Regions from separate parts of the Homo sapiens genome. Here region 1 is linked to region 2. The links are contacts of gene promoters, found by promoter capture Hi-C in blood cells and fetal thymus (Javierre and others, 2016). All regions are on one chromosome and are shown on one strand. The core of a region is centred on a gene start or on the middle of the fragment in contact, and the rest is flanking DNA. Distances in the headings are between cores, read along the strand shown.

Region 1 (4,906 bases), core at 146-2,645, 540 kb after region 2:
CTGCAGACCACTGTTGCACGTGGGCTGTTACCCACAGGGTTTGAGTATGAGCTAAGGCAAGAGAAGCAGAAACCAGGACCAGATGGGAACTCCCAGGAAGAAGGCAGCATGGTCATGAGCAACATCAAAGACATCAAAGATAAATCAAGCCAAGACAGGGTCAGAATACATCAGTAAGGGAAGAATGGCAGACAAGGCAAATGTGGGCCTGTCCTTAGAGGTGGGGCCTCCAATAAGCTTCCCAAGGAATCTTGCTCAACCAAGGGCAGTTGTTGCCTTTTGCTTGGGGCAACCTGGTTCTTCCCAGTGTATCTTTGAGCTGATCTCTCCGAATTTCAAAGAGCCCATGCCTGCTCAGGCCATCTCTATTCATGTTGGATGACTGTCTCTCTTATAAACTCTGGGCAGACTACGAATCAGTCCTTAGGGGCTAGGAGAGGAGAGGAGAGGATATGCTGGATGATCACTTTCTGCAAGTCTCCAGAACCTCCTGTTGACTTCTGTGTGATGGTCAACCTGAGACGTCTTGTTCAGTGCAAATGAATGTGTTCTTTTTGGCTGACACATTTAGTAGGAACAAATGAATGTGAAAGAGTAGGAGATGCTATAAGGTAGGGAGGAGAAAAGCATAGGGAACAGTTGTCTCTGGGTCCGAGACATCTCTGACACTATAATTTATAACCCAAATGATCTCAGTCAATGCGCTTAGCTTTTCTGTGCCTCATATGTAAAGTGGGAGCAATGTCCCATTTATCTGAGGGGTCAACACACCTTTGCTGTAAAGGGCCACATAGTAAAATAAATATTTTGCACTTTTCAGGGCCTAGAGCTTTTGTCACAACTACTCAACTCTGCCATTGTAGAGTAAAAGCAGCTATAGACAATATGTAAATAAATTGTGGTGGTTATGTTCCAATAAAACTATATTTACAAAAACAGGTAGCTGACAATGGTTTGCCAAATCCTAGCCTGTTTCATAGAACTCTTGTGAGAATTAAATGAGGTACGTGTGTCAAACGCTACTGCAGGCCCTCCAGGATAAGAGTCATTGTCATGAGGAGTAGGACAGACAGAGAAGAGCAGGTGGGAGAGTTGCTCACAGCCTCACAGGCTTTCAGGACTGGCCCCCCGTCATTTGCTAACAATGCCTCTTTTGACGATGTCCAAAGGGTCTTCCTCATCCACTTTTTCTTCCTAGGAGCCAAAGTACCAAAAGGAGGAATTTTGAGGCTCTATTAAACAGTTATAATGAAACATTTATCTTCTATATTAGTCATTCTGTGTAATTATTTCTGAGGATGAATTCTTTCCAAGATATATTTACAGACACATGGCTGCAACCATGAGACACACCACTGAGAATTTTCCAGCTCTTCTTTTCCATGCTCTATGTTCTTTTTTATTCTTCCATTCATTTTTAAAACATTTTATTGTGGTAAGAACGCTTTACATGAGATCTACATTCTTAACAGATATTTAAGTGTACAATATAGTATTGTTATCTCTAGGCACAGTGTTGTAGAGCATATCTTTAGAACTTATTCATCTTGCATAACTGAAATTTTATTCTTGTTAAATACCAACTCTTTTCCTCTCTCCCCCTAGTGCCTGGCAACCACAATTCTATTCTTTGCTTCCATGAGTTCAACTATTTTAGACACCTCTGTATGTTCTTAAAAAAAAATCTCTCCTTTTCAATATTGTCAGCTAAGTCCTCCCAGGGGAACACTTGGGGAGAAGTTATCTCCAGCCTGAGACCCCCTTGGTAAGCTGCAAAAAGTTGGAGGTCACTCAGAGTAATGGTGTCTAAGCAGAACTTGATTTCTGCATTTTTTTTTTCATCATAGAATCTCCTAAAGAGCATTTTAAGATGGAGAATCTGGTCTTGGGTAGGACCTAGGAAACTGTCATTATTTAAAATGCCCCAGGACTGTATAGTCCTAGCTACTTGGGAAGCTGAAGTGGGAGGATCATTTGAACCCAGGAGTTACAGGCTGCAGTGAGCTATGGTCGTATCACTACGCTCTAGCCTGGGCGACACAGCGAAACCCTATCTCACAAATAAATAAATTAATAGTCCCCAGGTGATTCCGTGGCCCAGCCAAGTATCTTCTTAGTTCTAGGCCAGCCTCCTCCACTTAACCTCTCTGTAATAGTTCCCAAACTCCACTCTTCAAAACTCCTAGCCCCACAGTTGCCTGCATTGCCTCCTCTTTTCTTTGTCTGCTTGCTTTGTTAGCCAGAAGGCAGAGAGCACGAAGGCATGTTAGTACCTGCAGTGATGGCTCTGCACTCCAAGAAGGAAATGAGTTCTCATCGGCTTGGCCAGCTGGGAATGCTGGAACTGGTATTCTCAGCCTGTGGACTCAAGAGAGCACTGGGCCAGGAGGGTTTCAGTGTTTCCAAGTCAATGCCAAAGGCACGTACACCGGTGGATGGGAAAGACATTGATTTTTCTTGAGATAATACCTCAAGTGTATTTGTTCAGTGTCTTTCAGAAACAAAGCCTTGTCTGATTTATTTTTATTGTTTTTTTGTTTGTTCCGAGAAGACAAAGCTTGTCTGACTAAAGCAAACCTCAGTGTTTTACTGTTCAGTAGCTCCTGGGAGTCAGGTTGTTCACATCCCTCTGTTAAGTGCATTGATGCTTCAACAGATACTTAGTGAGCACCTACTGTGTGTCATTGTGGGCTATAGATAGCTTTGGGAGAGTCAAAAGACCCGGTGGTTTCTGAGATGGCAGCCTGGCTCCTGGAGCCTGCAGTTCCCCATGGAGGGGCCTCTTAGTTCTAATCCCAGTCCTGCACAAAGAAACCAATCCCAGACAAAAGTATTTTAAGAGCACTTGGACAAAATGCTCAGCAAAACAGGTTTGTTGTCTGGCCTTGATGTCTCACTTCCTGTACCTAATTCTTGCCTTAGTTCCAGCAAGCATTTATTAAGTGCCTGCCACATAACACTGTGCTAAGTGCTTCCCACCTGCTGGCTGATTTGATTGATCCTCCCACAATCATAGCGGGTGATATGGTTTGGATTTGTGTCCCCACCCAAATCTCATGTTGAATTGTAATCCCTATTGTGAGAGAAGGGGACTAGTGGGAGGTGATTGGATTATTGGGGCAGATTTCTCCCTTGGGACTGTTCTCATGTTCATGAGTGAGTTCTCAAGAGATCTGGTTGTTTAAAAGTGTGTAGCATGTCCTTGTTTGCTCTCTTCCTCCTGCTCCAGCCATATAAGACGTGCCAGCTTCCCCTTTGCCTTCTGCCATGATTGTAAGTTTCCTGAAGCCTCCCCAGCCTCCTGTACAGCCTGTGGAACCATGAGCCAATTAAACCTCTTTTCTTTATAAATTACCCAGTTTCATGTATTTATTTACAGCAGTGCAAGAATGGACTAATACAGCAGGTATGATACCCATAAGACAGATGGGGAAATTGAAGCTTGAGAGACGATTTGCCTGACAACAAAGCTAGTCCTCCCAACTCCTGTGCTAAACAGACTCCCATAGCTTCTGTAACTACCCAGCTTCTACCATAGCTTCTGTCACTACCCAGTTAATTGTGCTCCCAGGTCAGATCTCGTCTTCTCCTTTAAGCCCTCAACCCTGGCCTTTAAAAATCAAGTATCCTGTCACCATGATGCTTTGGTGGGGAAATAGTGCATTCATTATTCCAAAAGAACAGGCCTTGTGACTAGAAAACCACTCCTTTCCCTCCAGGTCATTATTCTTTCTGGGGAATCACTAAATCCTGCTACGCCCCTGCTTCTCAAAGTATAGTCTCTGCACTAGCAGCAGCAGCAGCACCTATGAACTTATTAGAAATAAGTAAATTTTGGGGCCCCACCCTGGACCTACTGAATCAGAATCTCTCAGGATAGGCTCAGGAATTGTGTTTTAATAAGTTCTCCAGGTGGCACTGATGCATGCTGAAGTTTGAGAACCACTGGCCTAGATGGGATGCCTCAGGTACTTCAATAATAGCACAGTAGTGTGCACTTACCACAGACTGCTGGCTCTATAAGATATCCTGACAAGGGACAACAAAGACAGTGAGGGTGGCACTTCTGTGTTCAACAATGTGTGAACATTGCATATTCTGCTTCCCCCTTGGAAATTCTTAAAGATATTGGCATACTTAAGACCAGAAAGAGTCTTGCAATAGGAAGAGCTGCTTAACTTTACTCAATCACTATCTCCTAAATTGAGTTTTAATTTTAATTATGGAGTTTTTCTACTTTTTTATAATTTCAACTTTTCAGGGGATACATGTGCAGGTTTGTTACACAGGTATACTGCATGGTGCTGAGGTTTGAGGTACAAATGATCCTGTCACCCAGGTACTGGGCATAGTACCCAATATGTAGTTTTTCAACCCTCACCCTCTAGTAACCCCCAATGTCTGTGTTCCCATCTTTATGTCCATGTGTACCCAATGTTTAGCTCCCACTTGTGAGAACATGTGGTATTTGATTTTCTGTTTCTGCATTAATTTGCTTAGAATAATGGCTTCCAGCTGCATCTATATTGCTGCAAAGGACATGATTTCATTCTTTTTTATGGTTGTGTAGTATTTCGTGGTGTGTATGTACCAGATTTTCTTTATCTAGTCCACCATTGATCAGCACCTGGGTCAATTACATGTCTTTGCTATTGTGAATAATACTGCAATGAACATTCAAGTTCAAGTGTCTTTTTGATAGAACAATGTATTATCCTTTGGATATAAACCCAGTAATAGGATGCTAGGTTAAATAGTAGTTCTGAGTTCTTTGAGAAATCTCCGAACTGCTTTCCACAGCGGCTAAACTAATTTACATTCCCACGCACAGTGTGTAAGTGTTCCCTTTTCTTCGAAGCCTTGCCAGTAGCTGTTATTTTTTGACTTTTAAATAATAGCCATTCTG
Region 2 (5,045 bases), core at 2,307-4,806:
AAGGGAGGGCTGAAGGAGAGGAGAAAACAGAAGAGAAGCAGCAGAAGGGCAGTGGATGAAGAGGGCGAGGTCAAAGTCAGAGAGGCCTAGGGACAGCTACTTACAGTTCAGGACCTGGACTGGCGCCAGGAATGGACTCCAAGGGGTGAGGGCCCAGCTTCTCCCTGCCTTCCTCCCAAAATATGCAGAGACCTAACTGGATTCCAAGGGATGAGGGCACAGCTTCTCCCCCCTCCCACCCATTTCCCAACATGCAGAGCCCATGGTGGCAAAATCCCCTGGCTCAGGCTAAAGTCAGAACTGGTCTGGTTTCCTGTGTTTTTCAAATCTCTGCCATTTGGGCAGAACGCTTGGTCCTATAAACCAGGAGTCATCAGTATCCACAGAGAAGTTGCCTCAGCACTTGGACCCAAGTCAACTGTGTTTAAAATTTCACACCAAATCTATAAATTACACATTCACATTGTGGGCCAGCCTACCTTTTTTTTCAAATAGTATTCAAGGTATTTTTCTTTTTTTTTCTTTTCTTTTTTTTTTTTTTTTTGAGACGGAGTCTCGCTCTGTTGGCCAGGCTGGAGTGCAGTGGCGCCATCACGGCTCACTGCAAGCTCCGCCTCCCGGGTTCACGCCATTCTCCTGCCTCAGCCTTCCGAGTAGCTGGGACTACAGGCACCCGCCACCACGCCTGGTTAATTTTTTGTATTTTTAGTAGAGACGGTGTTTCACCGTGTTAGCCAGGATGGTCTCGATCTCCTGACCTCGTGATCCGCCCGCCTTGGCCTCCCAAAGTGCTGGGATTACAGGCATGAGCCACTGCGCCCGGCTATTCAAGGTATTTTTCAATACCTTGCTGCCTGGCTACTGCAGTGCCAATTCTGCCATTCCCCCCCGCTCCTCAATTCAGGCATCACCTGAGGGACTTGCAGAGCATCAGGGATCTGGCCCCTCTGAGATCTTGCTGGTCTACTCAAGCCTTTGTACAGCACCAGGCAACGAAATTAAATGTGGGACATGCACTATCACAGAATAACTTTTTAATTGCTTAATTAAATCAGAGATTTAAGGAAGGAGAGATTCAAAAGAGTTCCCTTTGAATGAGAAAAATAAGGATATGCCAAAATGGATAAAGTTACTAATCATGGGAACAAAGCCCTTAGTATTTACATATGATAAAAATGCAGGCCAGTATAGTAAAATCAGTAAGTACATTCTTTAAAATTTCAATTCAGTATATTCCTGAGATTTTATTATACAGGTAGTACTATAAAGAACATAGAAGACCTCATTATCCAACTTAATTCAGACCAGGGTTTGATTAAAAAAATAAAAAACAAAAAACTACCACACAGGACAAAGAAATTGCCATAAAATTGAGTTCCTATAAATGTGTTCCAGTTTAAGTAACTAAGTCCCTAAAATGAGCCTTAGTAAAGTCTACGCTGCATATAGACAGACTTAGGCACATCAAGTATACAGGTGACAATTAGCAAGTGTATAAAGCTATGGTCATTTCGCTAAATGTGTAAATCTAAAGGCAACCAAGTAAAAGACCTAAAAAAGGAAACTGTTAAGTCCATTTGTACATGGATTTAACAGTGAAGCATTTCATTCTTCATGTTTTCACTTGGTGTCTTGAAATAATCCCCTTTCTGTCTCCACTCTCCCTCTTAGACACTGCACCTGCCTTATTTATTTATGAAGTCTGAAGGTTAGTCCTACCTGCTGAGACTAATTAGCCCTGTGCTTTGTATCCTATGCAATCCTGTCTGATTAAATGTACACATTTGTTTTACTTCTTTTCAGGCTCCTTCTCACTCTACTTCTGATATTCTGATTAATATCAAAGTTGGGAGTTACAGTGATTCTCCTCTGCCTCCCCCCCAACCCATTTTTATTTTGCCTGCATCTTATTCTTTAGTGTGCAAATGTGGTTGTGATTTTTTTCCAGTGCAGGGGAATTCGTTGGCCTTGTCAATCTCGGTATCATTATTTTTAGTAGTCTTTCTGAGACTTTAGCCTATAAAACAGTTTTGCTGAAACCCCAAACTCTCTAAATATTACATGGCAAATTTGCTTTCTTTTGGAAACCTCGGTGCTGATGGGCCAGCTGAAGTGCAGGTGAGCTTTTTCAGGGAAGGGTGGGACAACAGTACATCCTGGACTCTAGACTAATACTACTCCTAAGAGGCAATTTGCTAAATCCTACTGATTTATTTTTTTCTTTTTTCTCTTTTTCATGTTGTAGTGTCCAGTCTACTTCTTACTGGGTATTTGCAAAAATGAATTTTCTTGCTCTATCACCCAGGAACATTGTGTTTTGGGAGCTGGGTCTTTCCTCTTTAACATAATTCCATTCCCCATTTTGTAGCAAATCAGTCTGCTCCTCCTCTAATACCTAAAAGTCAACAAATACCTGCCTCAAGCCCCAGGTTTCCCATCTTCTCCCGAAGGTCTTCTAGCATCGGTTTGGTTAGCAATTTCCTGCCAGAGCCACCTACATCTTGATTATTTTGGTCAGTCTTTCGGGGATTTCATTTCAGACCCCCTTCGAGAAACACTGTAGCCCAACTGATCCCAGGGGTTGGTGAACTTTCAGTTTTATTTTCCCTGACGGTGTTAACGCCCAAACTTTTCACCTCCTAAGTCAAAAAGGACTTTGACTCTAGCTCATTTCCTACTACCTCCAACGTCAGTTAAAAAAAAAAAAAAAAAAGCAAAACACCACTCTACATTTAAAAGAATCATATATTTTTCCTTAAGGATACTTTTAATGTTTCTGACATTTAGCATTTGTTTTTTGCATAAAAAGTCGTTTTGGCATATCCATCCTAGTGGGACTTAACATTTCATGAAATGATTCACTACTAATAAACAAAAAAGGGAGGAGGGAGGCCTCATGGGTTAATAGTTTCTTTCATTGTAGATGACCAGGAACTTTGACCAGCCCCTTCACTTCCCCAAGCTCTCTGAAAGTGGAGGGTTGATCTTTCCTTTTGACCACTTTTGTCGCATCCCGTCTAAGGGTGGCTGATTTCACTGCTGAATTAACCACCAAGCACCCCCCCACCCCCTCCCCCAGCCACCACTTTCTCAAATACTACCCTTCCTTTTCCCCCTCCCTTAAGACTTATTTCTAATATTTCTAAAGTGCACTGTTTTGGGCCTCTCCCCATCCCCGCCCCCCAAGTGGGCTTTCCTTCCGCCTTCCTCGGCTCGGATTCCTGACTTGGTCGCCACCCCCTTCTCCTCCTCTCCCACCCCGCATTGTCTTTCTGAAACCGCCCCCTCCCGGAGCAAGTCCCTGCACCCTCGCCCAGAATCCCGGGCTCGCACACACTCCGCGCAGGCCGCTCCCCCTGCACACTCCTCCCTCCGTCTCCCCCCGGCTTCCCCGCCCCTCTCTTCCTCCTTCTTTCCCTCCTCCCTCTCCCGGCGCCCGAAAGGATCATTGTTAGCCGCCCCCGCCCCGCCCACCCCGGCTGTTTATTTATGCACACGTCACTGGGCCGGCCCCGCCCTCCGGCATCTCATTAAGGCAGTGTGTTCCTCTCGCCCTGTCAATAATCTCCGCTCCCAGACTACTCCGTTCCTCCGGATTTCGATCCCCCTTTTTCTATCTGTCAATCAGCGCCGCCTTTGAACTGAAAAGCTCTCAGTCTAACTTCAACTCACTCAAATCCGAGCGGCACGAGCACCTCCTGTATCTTCGGCTTCCCCCCCCCTTTGCTCTTTATATCTGACTTCTTGTTGTTGTTGGTGTTTTTTTTTTTTTTACCCCCCTTTTTTATTTATTATTTTTTTGCACATTGATCGGATCCTTGGGAACGAGAGAAAAAAGAAACCCAAACTCACGCGTGCAGAAGATCTCCCCCCCCTTCCCCTCCCCTCCTCCCTCTTTTCCCCTCCCCAGGAGAAAAAGACCCCCAAGCAGAAAAAAGTTCACCTTGGACTCGTCTTTTTCTTGCAATATTTTTTGGGGGGGCAAAACTTTTTGGGGGTGATTTTTTTTGGCTTTTCTTCCTCCTTCATTTTTCTTCCAAAATTGCTGCTGGTGGGTGAAAAAAAAATGCCGCAGCTGAACGGCGGTGGAGGGGATGACCTAGGCGCCAACGACGAACTGATTTCCTTCAAAGACGAGGGCGAACAGGAGGAGAAGAGCTCCGAAAACTCCTCGGCAGAGAGGGATTTAGCTGATGTCAAATCGTCTCTAGTCAATGAATCAGAAACGAATCAAAACAGCTCCTCCGATTCCGAGGTAGGAAAAGCCCCTCGGGCTGGTGGGGTTTTTTATCTGTTTCCTGGGCTTGGCAAATGTTGCTGAAAGGGGAGAAATCGGGGCTGGGGGCGGCGGCGGGGCCCGGCGGGCGGCGTGTGCGTACGGTGCCACCATTGCAAAAACTTGTAACCCTGTTTTTTTCTACCCCCCCCTCGACCTCGCCGATTCTTTTTCTCCCCCTTCTCCCCCTTCTGCGTGGCGTTTGCCCCTCGCCCTCCCCACCTCCACCCCTCTGGGAAGGCGGAAAGACGGCCTCCGCCTCGCTCCGAAAGTTTCCGAGACAAATCCCGGGAAAGTTTGGAAGAAGGTGAGTACGCCCCGCGCGCCCCGCAGCCGCCCGGAGCCGCCCCCCGGGCCGGCCGCCCCGCGCGCCCCGGCCCCGCGCCCGGCTCGGCCTGGCCCTGCGCCGGCCCGGTCGGGGCGCCCGGCCCCTCGGGGCACTTTCTAAAAAGTTTCTCCTCACTCTCTCCCGCTCCGCGCGGCCGCCGCTGTCCCCTCGCCGCCCCGCCATGTTAGCGGCCAAGAGGCAAGATGGAGGGCTCTTTAAGGGGCCACCGTATCCCGGCTACCCCTTCATCATGATCCCCGACCTGACGAGCCCCTACCTCCCCAACGGATCGCTCTCGCCCACCGCCCGAACCGTAAGTGCCTCCGCGCCCGGCCCCCGCCCGCTGCCCGCCCGCCCGCGCCGCCCGCCGGGCCCCGCATGCGGCCCCTGCCCTGCCCCCTCCCCGCCTCCCCCTCCCCGCCTCCTCCCCTCCCTCCCTCC

The links. Contacts are between HindIII fragments. The CHiCAGO score rates a contact against its expected background, and 5 or more counts as called.
Region 1: a fragment that was not itself captured here is called in contact with the fragment with the promoter of TCF7L2 in region 2 in 1 of 17 cell types (M1 macrophages); the score reaches 5.0 in M1 macrophages.

What each region holds. Positions count from the first base shown.
Region 1 is chr10:113,484,424-113,489,329 of GRCh38, forward strand. It overlaps LOC107984270 (a long non-coding RNA gene), which reads right to left. Exons shown (of 2, transcript XR_001747591.2): 2 at 1-1,194. Among named protein-coding and RNA genes, the nearest start is that of HABP2, 66 kb to the right of the region's middle. The HindIII fragment of the contact is 2,320 bases long and covers 236-2,555 here.
Region 2 is chr10:112,946,691-112,951,735 of GRCh38, forward strand. TCF7L2 (transcription factor 7 like 2) reads left to right here and starts at 3,557. Exons shown (of 15, transcript NM_001367943.1): 1 at 3,557-4,255; 2 at 4,517-4,583; 3 at 4,793-4,917. The coding sequence starts at 4,067. LOC124902502 (a long non-coding RNA gene) reads right to left here. Exons shown (of 2, transcript XR_007062291.1): 2 at 3,939-4,317. The HindIII fragment of the contact is 8,187 bases long and covers 1-5,045 here.